2 separate regions of the Homo sapiens genome follow, and region 2 is linked to region 1. Evidence: promoter capture Hi-C in 16 types of primary human blood cells and fetal thymus (Javierre and others, 2016). All regions are on one chromosome and are shown on one strand. Each heading gives the region's core, a stretch centred on a gene start or on the middle of the fragment in contact. The rest is flanking DNA. Distances are from core to core; before and after follow the strand shown.

The links. The method cuts DNA at HindIII sites, captures the fragments that hold promoters and counts their contacts. A CHiCAGO score of 5 or more calls a contact.
Region 2: a fragment that was not itself captured here is called in contact with the fragment with the promoter of RALBP1 in region 1 in 1 of 17 cell types (neutrophils); the score reaches 6.3 in neutrophils.

Annotation. Positions count from the first base shown.
Region 1 is chr18:9,472,153-9,479,868 of GRCh38, forward strand. It overlaps RALBP1 (ralA binding protein 1), which reads left to right and starts at 3,361. Exons shown (of 10, transcript NM_006788.4): 1 at 3,361-3,539. It also overlaps the pseudogene IRX4P1. RefSeq lists a silencer at 3,292-3,701 and enhancers at 3,325-4,193, 3,932-3,991. The HindIII fragment of the contact is 10,934 bases long and covers 1-3,728 here.
Region 2 is chr18:9,077,564-9,085,279 of GRCh38, forward strand. No RefSeq gene overlaps it. Among named protein-coding and RNA genes, the nearest start is that of NDUFV2, 21 kb to the right of the region's middle. The HindIII fragment of the contact is 2,662 bases long and covers 2,551-5,212 here.

The DNA.
Region 1 (7,716 bases), core at 2,111-4,610:
CATTATATTTTCCTTTAATTCTTTGAAAAATGTTTACTTTTTAAAACATAATTATAAGACCTACTTTCAAGAGTTTGCTTCTGAATCCAGTATTTGAGCCCAATGGGTCTGTTTCTATTGGTTGCTATTTTCTTCCTCAGAGTGGGTGACACTTTACTGTTTCTTTGCATAAACCATGATTGTTGGTTGAAAAGCAGATATTTCATATATTGCAGCAATTCTAGATGTTTTATTTTTCTTAGTTTTGTTGTTGTTGTTGTTGTTGTTTTATCTTCCTGGATTTACACAGATTTAAAATCTGTCTCTATATGGCCTGTGGCTGCTGGTATCTTTGCTCTGTTTTTCAATTCACATTTTTATATTTACCCTGACTTTCTGGGCTTTGTCCCTGTGTTTGCATAGCTGTGGCTAGTCAATGATTTGGCAGTGGTTGCACTCAAACACCTTGATTTGGGAGTCTTCTTCCCTCTGCTAATGGATCTGTGTGTGGATTAAGGAATACATTCACAGTTGCCACCAGTTCTCAAGTCTCCCTTGGATTTACTTAACAGGTCTCTTGGGTCAACCCCAGGCAGATGCATAGTTTCCCAATCAGTCAGAGATGTGTGGAGATGTAATTAACAAATAGAGTATTTCTGTGGGGAAGTAGACTCTATAAAAAAGGATGATATTTCTAGAGTTGAAAAGTACAGGCTGGAGTGAGGTGGTGTGACCATAACTCTTCAATGACTCTTATTTCTAAAATCTCCCTGTTATATTTTTGACTGGCTTGCCATTTGCCCCACCTGGGACTGTAACCTCAGGTAAGCACAGCTGTGGGTTTGCCCTGTTCATTTCCATATGAGTTTGTCACTTTTAGTTGGCAAAGCCTTGGGTTTTTGACCACCCGCCCCAAATTGAGTCCATCCCTTTGGCAGCAAAGCTGCTAGTTTTCTTGGCTATTCCTACCCACACTGGCAAAACTGCAGTTCTGGTGCAACAGGGTGGGAGAGAAGCAGCCTCAGGCCAGAAGGCCACAGACATCTACTGTCCCTGCTAGCTGTTTCTGAAGAATAGATGTTTCTCAAATTGTTTTCTGTATTTGTTTGATTTCCAGTGCTCTGAAATGGTTGTTTTTGCCAATTTATCCAATTTTATACTGGTTTTGTGTGCAGAGAATTGCTGACTATGCCACACAGACATAGCTAAAAGTCCCTTCCACAGTTTTTTACGTAGGAACCTGTATTAGTTAGGACCTTTCAGAGTCATGTAAAAGAAATTCAACTGAATTAGTTAGGACTTTTAGAATTTTAATATGAACTGGCTTAAACAGTACAGGAAATTTGTGGTTCACAATTCTGGATAGTCTGTAAGATGGCCTTGCTCACAATCCCGAATAGTCTATAGGATAGTCCATAGAATCAAACAGGTGAGGTTTGATACTGCAGCTCAAATCATGCCACCAAACACAAGGTTCTTCTCCATCTTTCCCGCATTCATTTGACAGTACTGACTTCAACCCCAGGCTCTACTTGTTGCTGTCCCTCTAAACTCCCATCCCTCTAGGGTTTCCCCTTATAGGAGGAAAACGGTTGCCACATTTCCAGGCATCATATACTTACACCATGCTAGAGGAGCAAGGAAGCTACAGTTTACTGGAAGCCTCAGCCCCAGTCTTTGTGGGTTCATTGTTTCTGACTGGGCTTGTGACCATCTCTGCTGCTAGAGGGAATGGTTATGTTGCCTGGCTTAAATGGAAGGAATAAATGCTCAAGTGGCAGCCAACAAATACATTCAATATCCACACATATTGGCTCCAAATAATAAATCAATGAATGAGTGGGCTCACCCACTTAGGCTCACATGCTCACAGCACTTAAAGAGCTCCACAAACCATGCCCTCCAAATGAAACCACGGTCTACATTCTGCCAGCTCTTTCTCCCTTTCCATTTCTCCTTTCTTCTCTTTCACACCCTCACCTTTGGCTAGGCCACTCGATGTTGCAAGAAACACGTCCATCAGCAATTGCCTCAGTAGAAAACTCCCTCTGCTCCCCTCCTGCATCCACATAGCAGCTTCAGGCAAGGCCTCCATAAGGCCCAGCGTGGATCAGTGCCTGCCCCTTGGCCGAATCAGTGCTGTCACAGGCAGAGAATTGTCACTGCCATGCTCACCTGCCCAACCCAGTGGTCAGAGAAGACTGTTCTACTGCGAGAGGAGCCATGAGAAGGCTTTTCCGAAAGTCAAAGACCAATGGCTACCTCAGACCATCCCGTATCCACTCGTGGGAGGCCCCTGAATGAATCTAAGGCCCCAGGGGTTGAACTTTACTGAGTAGGGAGCGCAGAGTACTAGGGACAAATTTACCGCCCGCTTTGAGGAAAGCTGATGTGGGAGCAGAGAGCAAGATGGATAGCAGCGGCCAATCTAAACGGGCAACGAAGTGCCACAGAGTGCTGCACGTAGGAATGCGAGTGACAGGTAGGGTCGTCTATTCCAAGTCCCTCCTCTCCCCTAATAAACTGCCACATTTCAGAAAACACGAAGACTGCTGAAGCCGTTTCCAGCCTTCGCTACGCATTAGCAGAGCAACTCAACAAGCCTGGGTGAAAGGCTTCTCGAAGAAATTCAGTTATCTCTACTGCCAGCCAAACACGGACTGGGCAGCTTTCCTCGGGGGCTGCTCGGTAACTGCTGAGCCGGGGGCGCGCTGAAGCCCTGCAGAAGCCCACACCCGCTTCAGGAATTCCGTGGATGTTCCCGACAGAGGTTTATTCCCGCCTATCCCTACAGGCCCACGGCGCTCTTTCCTCCAATCCCACACCCAGTCGAAGGCGGGGCAGCCGCCCCACCCAGCGGCCAGCCGGGCGGCCCCCAGTCTGGTTTAACTGGTTGGAACGACTAAAGCACGCTGGCGCAAGGAAAGCTCTCAACTTCGGGAGCTGAGGCGCAGGCTGGCCAGAGCGTGGAGAGGAAAGCCCTTTCCATCCTCAAGGCCGTTGCAGGAGATGCCCGCGAGCCACCTTCGCCAGCACCACACCGGGGTAAGCCGTCCGTCCCCGAAACCCGCAAGGCCACCGACTGCGCAGGCGCCTGCAGAGCACTGGCCCTCGGCGCGTTCTCTCGCGCTCTTCTTCAGTCTCCTCAGCGAGCCTGGGGACGAAGGGGGCGCGGTGCCTCCTGGGTGTTGTAGTTTGCTTCCTTGGCGAGAGGCCTTCGGGCTGGCTGGACGCCGGGGCCTTGGGAACTACGCCTCCCAGCGCGCCCCGCGCGAGAGCCCAGGTCGCCTGCCCTTGACGGCTTCAGCCGTCTGAGCGGAGAGGAGGATCCGGGAAGCCGGCTGCGGCGGGAGGAGGGAATGCGCGTGCGCGCTGGACCGCCTCGTCCCGTTCCGTCCCAATCATTGTAAACAGGCAGAGGCTGGGCGGGGTGGGAATGGGGCGCCCGAGGCCGGCCTGGGGCGCAGCGCAGGAGGCGGCTCCGGTGGCTGCGGCGGCAGCGTGAGCGCGAGGAGGCGGAGGCTGCGGCGGGGCGGACGGTCGCGCGGCGGCAGGCACAGGTCAGTCGCAGGGAGCGGTCGCGTGCTAGGGTCGCGGCGATACCCCTGGAGTGCCCGAGGAACCCTCTCCCGCGCCGGCCTCGCGCCCGCGTCTGTCAGGCAGCGTGTGGGGCTCGGTGCTCGCAGCGCTCGGGTTTGAAGTTGGGGGTGGGGGGCGTGGCTGCCCCTGGCGTGGGTTCCTCCCCGGAAAGCTTCGCCCCAGTTTTCGCCCCCCTTGGCCGTGCGTCCCTCCCACTGGCCGACGGGCCTCCCTTCGTGGCGTCCTCGTTTGTGGTGCTCTCGGGGGCCGGGGGTGGAGAGTTAGGAGTCCCCAGGCCTCGGGGAAGCTCTTGGGGGGCGCCTGGACAGAGGCTAGGGGACCCAGCCCTCACGGTTGGTGGATCGTGCCCGGCATAGTGGCCAGGCTCCAGGGCTTACCCAGGGGACCAGGACAGGCTCCTGGTGTCGCCCACCGCTGGCACTGAGCAGTGGGCGCCTTTGGGTGCTGCGATCCTTCCTTCAGGTTTCAGTGGGAATGGACAGACAGATCTGAAGTTGAAAATTCTTTTCACAACTCATGTTCAACTATGTGTGTTGTCAGAATGCTCTTAATGAGGTCAGTGTTCTCCCTCTTTTTTTTAAAACTGATCGTTGTGAGAGTGAAACAGGTTTTACAGAATATTTAACACCTCCGTCTTCCCTGAAGTAATTCTGCTGTTTCAAGTTTTGGGATTCAGTATTACAAAGCCTTCCTCTTGAGCAAGGCCTAGTACAATTCTTCAAGGTCCCTAGCATGTTAATTCGAGGTGTTTTGAACGTGCATATACAGGAAGTGCAGCCGTTTGGCCGTTGAGTTAGTGCTCCATCCAGCCTTGTTAGAAAAGCTTTCGCTGAATTTTTAATTTAGTGGAGTGGTCATGTTCTAATGCTGCAGTACTTTGGGGAGTATTCCATTATACTTGGCAGTTATTAACGAAATACTGAACTTGTGATAAGGTTTTGTTTTGGTGCTCAGCATTTCTAAATGAATAAGTGGGACTGTGAATAAGAAAGATCACCTCACTTTCTGTTTTTAGAGTTATTGTGGTCATTTGATAACTCCTTTCTGTCTTTGTGAAAATAATTACTGTAAGCTGGAGTGGCGGTAGTAGGGGTAGGAAGGAGGTCAGTAGAGTGGTTTCCACCTCTCATTCAAAGTATCTGGTAGATCCAAGTGGGGTAGGTTAGTTAACAGTAGCTTTTTTTTTTTTTTTTTAGTTTTTTATTTTTTGAGACAGAGTTTCGCTCTTGTTGCCCAGGTTGGAGTGCAATGGCATGATCTCAGCTCACCACAGCCTCTGCCTCCTGGGTTCAAACGATTCTGCTGCCTCAGCCTCCTGAGGGGATTACAGGCATGCGCCATCACGCCCGGCTAATTTTATATTTTTAGTAGAGACATTTTCTCCATGTTGGTCAGGCTGGTCTTGAACTCCCGACCTCAGGTGATCTGCCCGCCTAGGCCTCCCAAAGCGCTGGGATTACAGGCGTGTGCCACCGCGCCCTGCCAACAGTAGTAGCTTTTGAGAAGTGACTCTTTAAACAAGGTATCTCGAAACAATGTAATACAACTTAGTTTGCTTTCTCTTCAGGATATTGTTTCTAATTATGGATCTTATCCAGACTATTTCTCCCCTAATTTAGAATAGGAAAGTGGTATCAGAAAGTGCATAATAACTTTAATTTGTACAGTTATATTTGCATAGTTGTTTGCTTGGCAAGAAGAGATCGGGCCCAGCATGTAACCCAAAAGAATATTGTTTCTGTTTTGAAAGATCCCTGATAGAAACTTATGTTAGTTTGTATAAGAGGGTACAAGGAAAAATGCAGATTATTTAGAATACAGGAATTACTATGTAGAAAGTACTGTGACCAGGTGAAGAGGACTTAAAGATACAGAAGGCAGTGTTCCTGCCTTCAGGGTAGTTGAACCTTATCTCTTACTTTAACTGTCAACAAGTACAAGATTGTTTTGATTGAAGAACATATGCGGGTACAGTGGATGTACAAAGGAGATAGTGGTCAGTTTCTTAAAGTGAAGAAAAGAGCTGAAGAAGAGGGAAACTGTAAGGAAAAACTATGTAGAAGGTGATGAAAATCAGGAGTGTACAGGCATAGAAAGAATGGGCATTTAGGTAGAAGGAGCAGTGTGAGAAAAAGCATGGGAGTCTAAAATTAGAGAGTAGCATCTGCAAAAATAGCAAGTATAATACAGGGTGGTGGCAAGACCTGAAACTGGGGAGATAGGCAGAGACCAAATTATGGATCTTGCAGACCATCAGAATAATTACAATTTTATTTTATAAGCAAATAGGAGTCATTGAGAGGACAAAGAAGAGACCTAAGCCAGCTCAGCCCATTTTTAACCCTCTGCTATAGGTCAGGCACTGTATTAGGTACTGTATATTTTATGTCCTTAAGCTTAAAGAAGGCTTAGTCATGACTAATGCAGAAATTGGGGGGCTAGGGCAGGGATGGGGAAGGAACTTTTAGAGGGAAAGGTGGGCAGAAACGTAGGTGAGAAAGAACATGGAACACTTTTTTTTTTCCCAATACAGACACCATCACTCAGTTTTATTGGTTTTGTCTTATTAGCCTCTGAAGTAGGCAATTATTGGTGTGAACATACATTTTGAAAAACATCTGGAGTCAAGAGTGCACGAGTGTCAACTCAGTGCAAGTACTGTTGGTAAGCATTATGTCCCGAGGATGAAATCGGAGGACCAACAGGCCCAGGAGGCTTCACAGCGAACACCACATGCCTCGCGCCCAAAAGGACAGCAGACCGCGCTTCAGAACGGAACCGCCTTCTCCATGTAAACTTTTGACGTAAACTGTGTGCTTCAGGGTGGCCTCTTCTTCTCCGAGATCCTCTCCTGCGTCCCGAGTTTGGGAATGGCCCGGCCGTGCTCAGGCCCAGGCGGTGGAGGCCTCGGTGTAGTAGTGCCGTGCTTGTCGACGTTCCCAGGAGTCCGGGTTCAGAAGCCCCCTCTCCGGTGGATTGGCAGCTTCGCGGTAGCTGGGCTAGTCTTCCTCTGGAAACTCAGTAAAAAGAGTCGGCGCTGTCCGCCTGAGCGCGGGTTTCCTACCGAGCTAGAGGCCAGCCTGCCTCAGGCGCAGAAGGGTTTGCCGCCGGCCTTGGTCAGGGCGAGCAGCTCCCTGGTGGCGCCCAGAGCTGGGGTGTCCTGGGGCGCGGCAGGCGGAAAGGCACGCGCGGGCCAGGGGTGCAGTCAGCACAGAATATGGAAGAGAATGGGAAGTTGTTTTCTGTAGCTGTAGCATTAGTTGTGGTGATAAGTAGCAGAAGATGAGGTTGCAGGTATCCTCAAAAGTATTGCGTGCCATTCCAAGGACCTTACCATTTTTTCCTGTAGATAACAATAGGGTTTATGTATTTTAATGAACAGAGAGACATGATAAGATTTTTCTTTTTATTTTTTTTTTACTTTTTTGAGATAAGGTCTCACTGTGTCACCCAGGCTGAAATGAAGTGGCACTCACCGCACTCCGTCATGGCTCACTGCAGCCTCGACCTCCCAGGCTCCAGCGATCCTCCCACCTCAGCCTCACGAGTAGCTGGGACCACAGGTGAACGCCACCACACCTGGCTAATTTTTTGGTATTTTTTTTTTTGTAGAGATGGAGTTTTGCTGTGTTGCCCAGGCTGGTCTTAAACTTTGAGCTCAGGCAGTCCACCCTCCTCGGCCTCCTAAAGTGCTGGGATTACACGTGTAAGCCACCATGTCCGGCCAAGATTTTTATTTTAGAAAGATCATTCTGGAATTGTAGAGTAAGGATTTCAGAAGGGATGGAGAGAAGGTAAGAATGGATGTAGAAAGACTGTTTAGGAGGTTTTTGCACTAATCGAAGTGAGAAATAAGGGTCCAAACTAAGGCAATGTTAGAGGGGTTATGGAGGAGGAGGGTAATAGAAATATTTAGAAAGTAGAATTCATAGGATTCAGCAACAATTGGATATGGGGAGTGAGGGAAAAATAATAGAATAAGATGACTTGGATTTTAACTTGGGTGATTGAAGAGACAATGGTAAAATATACTGAGATGGGGAATTCAGGAAGAGAAGCACATTTGAGGAGAAACAGTATTTTAGCTTCAGAACATATTGAGTGGAAGTTATCTGTGAAACATCCAGGTGGAATCAT
Region 2 (7,716 bases), core at 2,632-5,131, 390 kb before region 1:
TGGTCATACCTGTAATCCCAGCACTTTGGGAGGCCAAGGTGGGAAGATCGCTTGAGCCCAGGAGTTCAAGATTAGCCTGGGCAACATGGTGAAACCTTATCTCTACTAAAAATACAAAAATTAGCCAAGCATCATGGCACACACATGTAGCCCCAGCTACTCGAGAGGCTGATGTGGGAGGATCACCTGAGCCAGGGGAGGACGAGGCTGCAGTGAGCTGTGATCACGCCACTGCACTTCAGCCTGGGCAACAAAGTGAGACCCTATCTGACAAAAAAAAAAAAAAAAAAAAAAAAAGGCAAAGGAGAAGGAAGTAGTTAAAGAGCTGGGGCAGGACCTACCGGAGAGGTAGGAGAAGAACCAGGAGAGTGTGGTGTCTAACGAGTCAAGAGAAGAGAAAGTTCCATAAGGGGGAAGTGGCCAGCAGTGCCCAATGTAGCTGGGACCACTACTCATGAGTAAAGCATGCAAAGCACTCAACAGCAGTTCAAAGAGGAGAGCACTGCACATGAGAAAGGAAAAGATACCTTTATAGAAATTTCAACCGTGAGTAGCTGGTTTATTTTCAAGAGGACCTTTTACCCACATTTTGTGGCAGCCAGATAAGTAGGAACTATCAGTACCATTTTTATTTTCCTAATATTTATTTATTTATTATTTATTTTGAGACAGAGTCTCGCTCTGTTGCCCAGGTTGGAGTGCAGTGGTGCCATCTTGGCTCACTGCAACTTCCGCCTCCCAGTTTCAAGCAATTCCCCTGACTCGGCCTCCCGAGAAGCTGGGATTACAGGTATGTGCCACCAAACCTGGCTAATTTTGTATTTTTAGTAAAGATGGGGTTTCTCCATGTTGGTCAGGCTGGTCTTGAACTCCCGACCTCAGGTGATCCACCCGCTGTGGCCTCCCAAAATGCTGGGATTACAGGCATGAGCCACTGCACCCGGCCGCCCAGCTGGTTTTTTTTGTATTTTTAGTAGAGACGGGGTTTCACCATGTTAGTCAGGCTGGTCTCCAACTCCTGACCTCAGGCAATCCACCCGCTTCGGCTTCCCAAAGTGCTGAGATTACAGGCATGAGCCACCACACCCAGCCTATTTTCCTAATATTTAATTAGGAAATTTTTCAAACATAAAAGTTGAATGCATTACACAATAAGCACCCAGGTGTCTATCACCTGGATTCCACAAGCAATGTTTTATTATACCTGCTTGATCACGTTTCTATCCATCTAACCATCCCTCTCACCGTCCATCAATCCATCTTAATTTTTGGATGCATTTCAAAGTTAGTTTTAAACATAATATTTCACAATGAAACACTTCAGCATCCATATAATTAACTAGAATTCAATATCTGTTTATGGTTCTTTTTCTTTTTCTTTTAGGAGATGTGGTCTCACTATGTTGCCCAGGCTGGACTTGAACTACTCCCCAAGCAATCCTCCTGTCTCAGGCTCAGTAGCTGGAACTACAGGCACTGCCACTGCCCTCAGCTGATAGTTCTTTTTCCTTTAGGGTAAAATTTAAAAAGAGCAAACTGCACAAATCTTAACTGTGCCGTTTGATGCTCTTTCTTTTTTTTTTTTTTTTTTTTTTTTTTTTTTGAGACAGAGTCTCACTCTGTCATCAGGCTGGAGTGCAGTGGTGTGATCTCAGCTCACTGCAACCTCCTCCTCCCGGGTTCAAGCAATTCTTCTGCCTCAGCCTCCTGAGTAGCTGGGACTACAGGCGCGCGCCACCACGCTAGGCTAATTTTTGTATTTTCAGTAGAGATGGGGTTTCACCATATAGGCCAGGATGGTCTCGATTACTTGACCTCATAATCTGCCTGCCTCAGCCTCCCAAAGTGCTGGGATTATAGGTGTGAGCCACCATGTCCGGCCCTTTCTTTCTTTCTACAGGCAGGGTCTCACCCTGTCACCCAGGCATAGTGGTGCCTCATGGTTCACTGCAGCCTTGACCTCCTAGGCTCAAGTGATCCTCCTACCTCAGCATCCCAAGTAGCTGGGACTACTGGCACATGCCACCACGCCCAGCTAATTTTTTTATTTTTTGTAGAAACAGATTCTCCCTATGTTGCCCAAGCTGGTCTCAAACTCCTGGGCTGAAGTGATCCTCCCACCTCCGCCTACTAAAGCTAGGATTTCAGGGGTGAGCCACTGCACCCTGCCTGATGCTTTTTGACAAATGCGTATCTTGCACGTGTCCTATTAAGTTATAGAATATTACATCGACCCAGAGTTTGTCACTGCTGCTTTATCTTTCAGAAAGTGCAGAGAGCGTAAGGAAAGAGCTCTGGTCCCGGGCTCACGGTAAGAACACAGCCAGTGTTCATTCCCTTCTCCCTTCTGCAAGGGGACTCTACCACCACTCACACAGATTCACCCACATTTTCACCAAGATAGAAATAGACATTGAACTCCTCCTAAAAGTGCTTTTGTAAACGTTTCACAATAAACCCTTTGTAGAGGACAATGGTGTCCAGTGAACCAAGCCCAGCCTAGGAAATCATAATTCCTCACTCAGAATCCTGCTCTGGGCATGCTGAGCAAGCTTATGTTAAAGTTCTCTTACTTGTAAAACAGGAACAATAACCATCTGCATCAGAGAAGTGTAACAATTACCCTGGCATTTTCATGTATTAACTAAAATAGCCCCAGAGAAAAAGGTGAAAAGATTTCAATACCAGGTTATGAACATTTTTACCAACCTGCCACATTGTCACAGTTTAACCCTTTGGTGCCCTAACCTGGCCATGCTACTGAGGAAAGGCCTGTTGGGCACCAGTTTGAATCAGGGACGTTCTGTGTGGAGTGCTGGGCCTGCTCAGATTTGGCACTGGAATCAGGACTGTGGTTGCTTGTGATGTCTTCCCAGGTCAAATATCCATCGCTAACAACCCCTGAAAGAGGATGTGGGCTTTGTTTATTTGTTCATTTTATTGCTTTTGTTTGTTTTGTAACTCTGGGCTTTAAGAAGATAGTATTAGAAACTTATCGGTTGGAAGGAAGAGAGGGTTTCCAAATTACTTGCCCTAAATCTGGATTTAAGGAACTCTGAGACATAAATTGAGATAAGAGCAACCTTTTTTTTTTTTTTGAGACAAAGTCTCGCTCTGTCCCCCAGCCTGCAGTGTGATGGCATGATCTCAGCTCACTGCAACCTCCGCCTCCTGGGTTCAAGCGATTCTCCAGTCTCAGCCTCCCGAGTAGCTGGGATTACAGGCGCCTGCCACCACGCCTGGCTAATTTTTGTATTTTTAGTAGAGACGGGGTTTCACCATGTTGACCAGGCTGGTCTCGAACTCCTGCCCTCAGGTGATCCACACGCCTCGGCCTCCCAAAGTGCTGGGATTACAGGTGTGAGCCACTGTGCCCGGCCGATAAGAGTACCTTTTAAGATTTAATTAAAATTTGCTTGAGGCTTCTTCCCAAGCTCTGTGAGGGGTCTAATTATTTCCCTGGGTTTATGTTAATTCCTGAGGTTTTGCAGACACATGTTCACTTCCAGTTCCACAATCCTGCTCTTGCTGAATGCACGCCTCTCTTGGTGTCTACTTCTGCTGTTGTCATCCTTTTCTGCTCTGGGACAATCTCGTTCTGGAACTCAACCTCTTTTCTTTGATTTATCCCAAACCACTTTCCCAAGGCAAAGGCTTGTACAATCCCATATCTGTATCTTTAATTTTTCTCCCCTCTCCTCTCTTTTTTTTTAATTAATTTTTTTAATTTAATTTTTTTTTTGAGACCAGTTTCTGGAAGTTACACTCTTTGACCCAGGCTGGAGTGCAGTGGTGCGAGCTAGGCTCACTGCAGCCTCCACCTCCTGGGTTCAAGCAATTCTCCTGCCTCAGTCTCCTGAGTAGCTGGGATTACAGGCATGTGCCACCATGCCCAGCTAATTTTTTAAATATTTTTAGTAGAGACGGGATTTCGCCATGGTGGCCAGGCTGGTTTCGAACTCCTGACCTCAAGTGATCCGCCTGCCTTGGCCTCCCAAAGTGCTGGGATAACAGGCATGAGCCACCGCGCCCGGCTCCCTCTCTTCTCTTGACTGTTCTACTCCCACTCACAAATTATTGTTGATGTTTAGATGTGGAGTGGTTTAGCTATAACTTTGCTATCTTATATTCTTTCATCCAGTGGCCCCAGGGTCTTTCCACCCACAAGTGGCTAATCAAGGCATTTTTCCAGACAAAGACAGTTCTCTAAGAGGAACTTTGGTATAAATTCTTTAAAGTATATATATGTGTGTGTGTGTGTGTGTGTGTGTGTGTGTATGCACATATACACATCTATACACACAAACACGTACATATATACACATATATAATATATATGCATATACATACATCATATATCATGCATTGTAGATATGTATATAATATATAAAGTATACAGATAATTACATGAATACATATTTATTTATTTATTTTATTCATTTATTTTTGAGACAGGGTCTCAACTCTGTCACCCAGGCTGGAGTGCAGTGATGCAATCTTGGCTCACTGCAACCACCACCTCTTGGGTTCAAGCAATCCTCCCACCTCAGCCTTCCGAGTAACTGGGACCACAGGCACGTGTCACTATGACTGGCTAATTTGTATTTTTGGTAGAGACATGTTGCCCATGCTGGCGCATAAATACATACGTATTTAAATCTATATACATATTATATGTATACACACACACACATATATATATACTCCACTGCATAGATTCAGTCATCTACACATCTAAACCACCTTTACTGTGGAATTAGTGAACTCTTTAGCTCCTCCCTTAGTCTGTTTCTTATTCTCATCTTTATTTCTCATTAAACTGATTATAATATATAAATATATTTCTTATATTTATCTCATCTTTATTTCTTATTCTCACCATCATTTTATTTCTGCATTGCCATACACCTTTCTTTCTGATTAAAATTAATCCCATCCAGTTTGCACTGTTGAGTTTATAAAATGGGAGACTGGAAATATCTGTTCAGTCACACACTGATTCAATCATACATTCATTCAACATACAATAATTGAGCACCTACAATAGAATACCATATTGGGTCCTATAGAAGAGACGGATAAAAGGGAGGGGGTCCATGCCTTCAGAAACTTAAAATCCAGCTGGATGTGCAACACTTAACACACACGAAACAAAGCATCCTCAAATGCACAATTCTCATCAGAGGAACAGCAAATTAGAGCAGAAAGCTAAAGCTTTGCCATGCACACCAATGCTGCTATATCAGCAGAATGAGCAGGAGGGGGAGAAAAGCCACTGTGGTTAAAAGAAACTGCTGGCCTATGGATTTTTTTAAATTACAATTTGCATGCTCTTCTAACAGTGTTAGTTCTGCTTAGGTGGCAGAGTGGCTTTCCTGAAAGTATGAGCTCAGCCTTGTCTTATGCCTGTTTAAAGAAAGAGGTCAGGTAAAGTGATTGTAGTAATAGCACCAAGCTGGTTGAAAACCACAGTATCTCTCAGATGGCACCAAAAACACCCACACGATGGAAAATTTTTGCCTGCTAAAAGCCGCTTGAAGTTGTTTCAGAAACACATATGAGCAGTATTTGCTCTTCTCCTTGGGAGTGTTCTCGAGGAAAACAGCTTTCCAAACTTAACATGTTAAGGTAGTAGAACAGTCTAGTGGCCTGAGTGAATTTTGGATTGAGCAGCAAGTGGGCCTTGAGTATTCAGGTAGCAAGTGGTCAAGGAGAATTTGGAGCTGGTCAGTGCCTGGCTAAACTGCATGTGCCTTGAAGAGAAGTCCTTCAGATCCACCTGTGTCTACACAAATTCATGAGTGACTGGTGCCGTGAATTCAGTCCCACTAACGCACCAGCTGTGCTTTTTGGTAGTTGTTTCCTTTTCTTGGCAATTTGGTTTTAGGTTGTGTCAAAAGGGGAAGACACAGAACTGAGACAAGGCAAAATTATAAGACATGTATCTTATTTTTTAGCTTCTCTATATCACTATATTTGAGGTGAAGGATTTAATCCTTATATAGCTCTTCCAAATCTCTTCATACAGTACCACAATTTATAACTGAACTCTATACTGAATAATCATTTAAAGCATTTTAAACTACCTTGGAAGAGAAATGAGTAATGACTCAATATATTTGCAAAAACCCATACTGTATCTATTGTAGGATGTCTACATAAAAACTGAATAACCCCATCAGTGTTCATTTGACATCAAAGTGGACCTAGGGGCAGAAAACAAAAGGACTCTCATCTTAAGGGCTGATAAATGTAGTCTATGTGTGGTATTGATAATTTTTTTAATTCACAGATCAAATATATTTTAATGTACACATGGAAGAATTTAACTATGAAGTTCATGAAGAATGGCAAGTATTAACATACTGAAAGATGGTATTCATGTGCAGGAGAAAGATAATCATCTGTTTCTCAATGATGGCAACATGCAATAAATGACTTCCTTCCGTAGAACCTCCAAATTAGAGTAATTCGTGTATTTCCCGTTTCACATTCTAGGAAAGTAAGTTATATCATGCTTTTCTAAGAACTGGTTGTTTTTCCTTGCATACTTCTATGACAAAATTTAAAATAATTTATTTGTAAGAGGATATACTGATGGTCTTAATTTGAAAACATTTAGTGAGATGTACCTGGCATACTAGATGTGATACTAAAAGAACTTGTGGGGCCGGGCACAGTGGCTCATGCCTGTAATCCCAGCACTTTGGGAGGCCGAGGCTGGCAGATCACCTGAGGTTGGGAGTTCGAGACCAGCCTGACTGACATGCAGAAACCCCGTCTCTAGTAAAAATACAAAAATTAGCCAGGCATGGTGGTGCATGCCTGTAATCCCAGCTACTCAGGAAGCTGAAGCAGGATAATTGCTTGAACCCTGGAGGCAGAGGTTGCGGTGAGCCAAGATCGTGCCACTGCACTCCAGCCTGGGCAACAAGAGCGAGACTCCGTCTCAAAAAAAAAAAAAAAGAAAAGAAAAGAAAGAAAGAAAACTTGTGGCCAGGAGAGGTGGCTCACGCCTGTAATTCCGGGTGTCTCTGGCTCTGGCTCTGTCTCTCTTGCCCAGGCTGGAGTGCAGTGGCGTGATCTCAGCTCACTGCAACCTCCACTTCCCGGGTTCAAGTGATTCTCTTGCCTCAGCCTCCTGAGTAGCTGGGACTACAGGCACGTGCCACCATGCCCGGCTAATTTTTTTGTATTTTTAGTAGAGATGGGGTTTCACAGTGTTAGCCAGGATCTTCTCGATCTCCTGACCTCGTAATCTGCCTGCCTTGGCCTCCCAAAGTGTGCTGGGATTACAGGCGTGAGCCACCATGCCTGGCCTCCGGTGATTTTTAATATATTTCTCTCTCTCTCTCTCTCTACATACATACATATATATATATATATATATATATATATATATATATATGTATGTATGTATGTATATATGTGCGTGTGTGTGTGTGTGCGTGTCTGTGTGTGTGTGTGTGTGTGTGTGTGTGTGTGTGTGTGTGTGTGTGTATATATTTTTTTTTCTGAGACAGAGTCTTGCTCTGTTGCCCAGGCTGAAGTGCAGTGGTGTGATCTCAGCTCACTGCAACCTCCACCTCCTGGGTTTAAGCGATTCTCCTGCTTCAGCCTCCTGAGTAGCTGGAACTACAGGCATGCACAGCCACGCCCTGCTAATTTTTGTATTTTTAGTAGAGACAGGGTTTTGCAATGTTGGCCAGGTTGGTC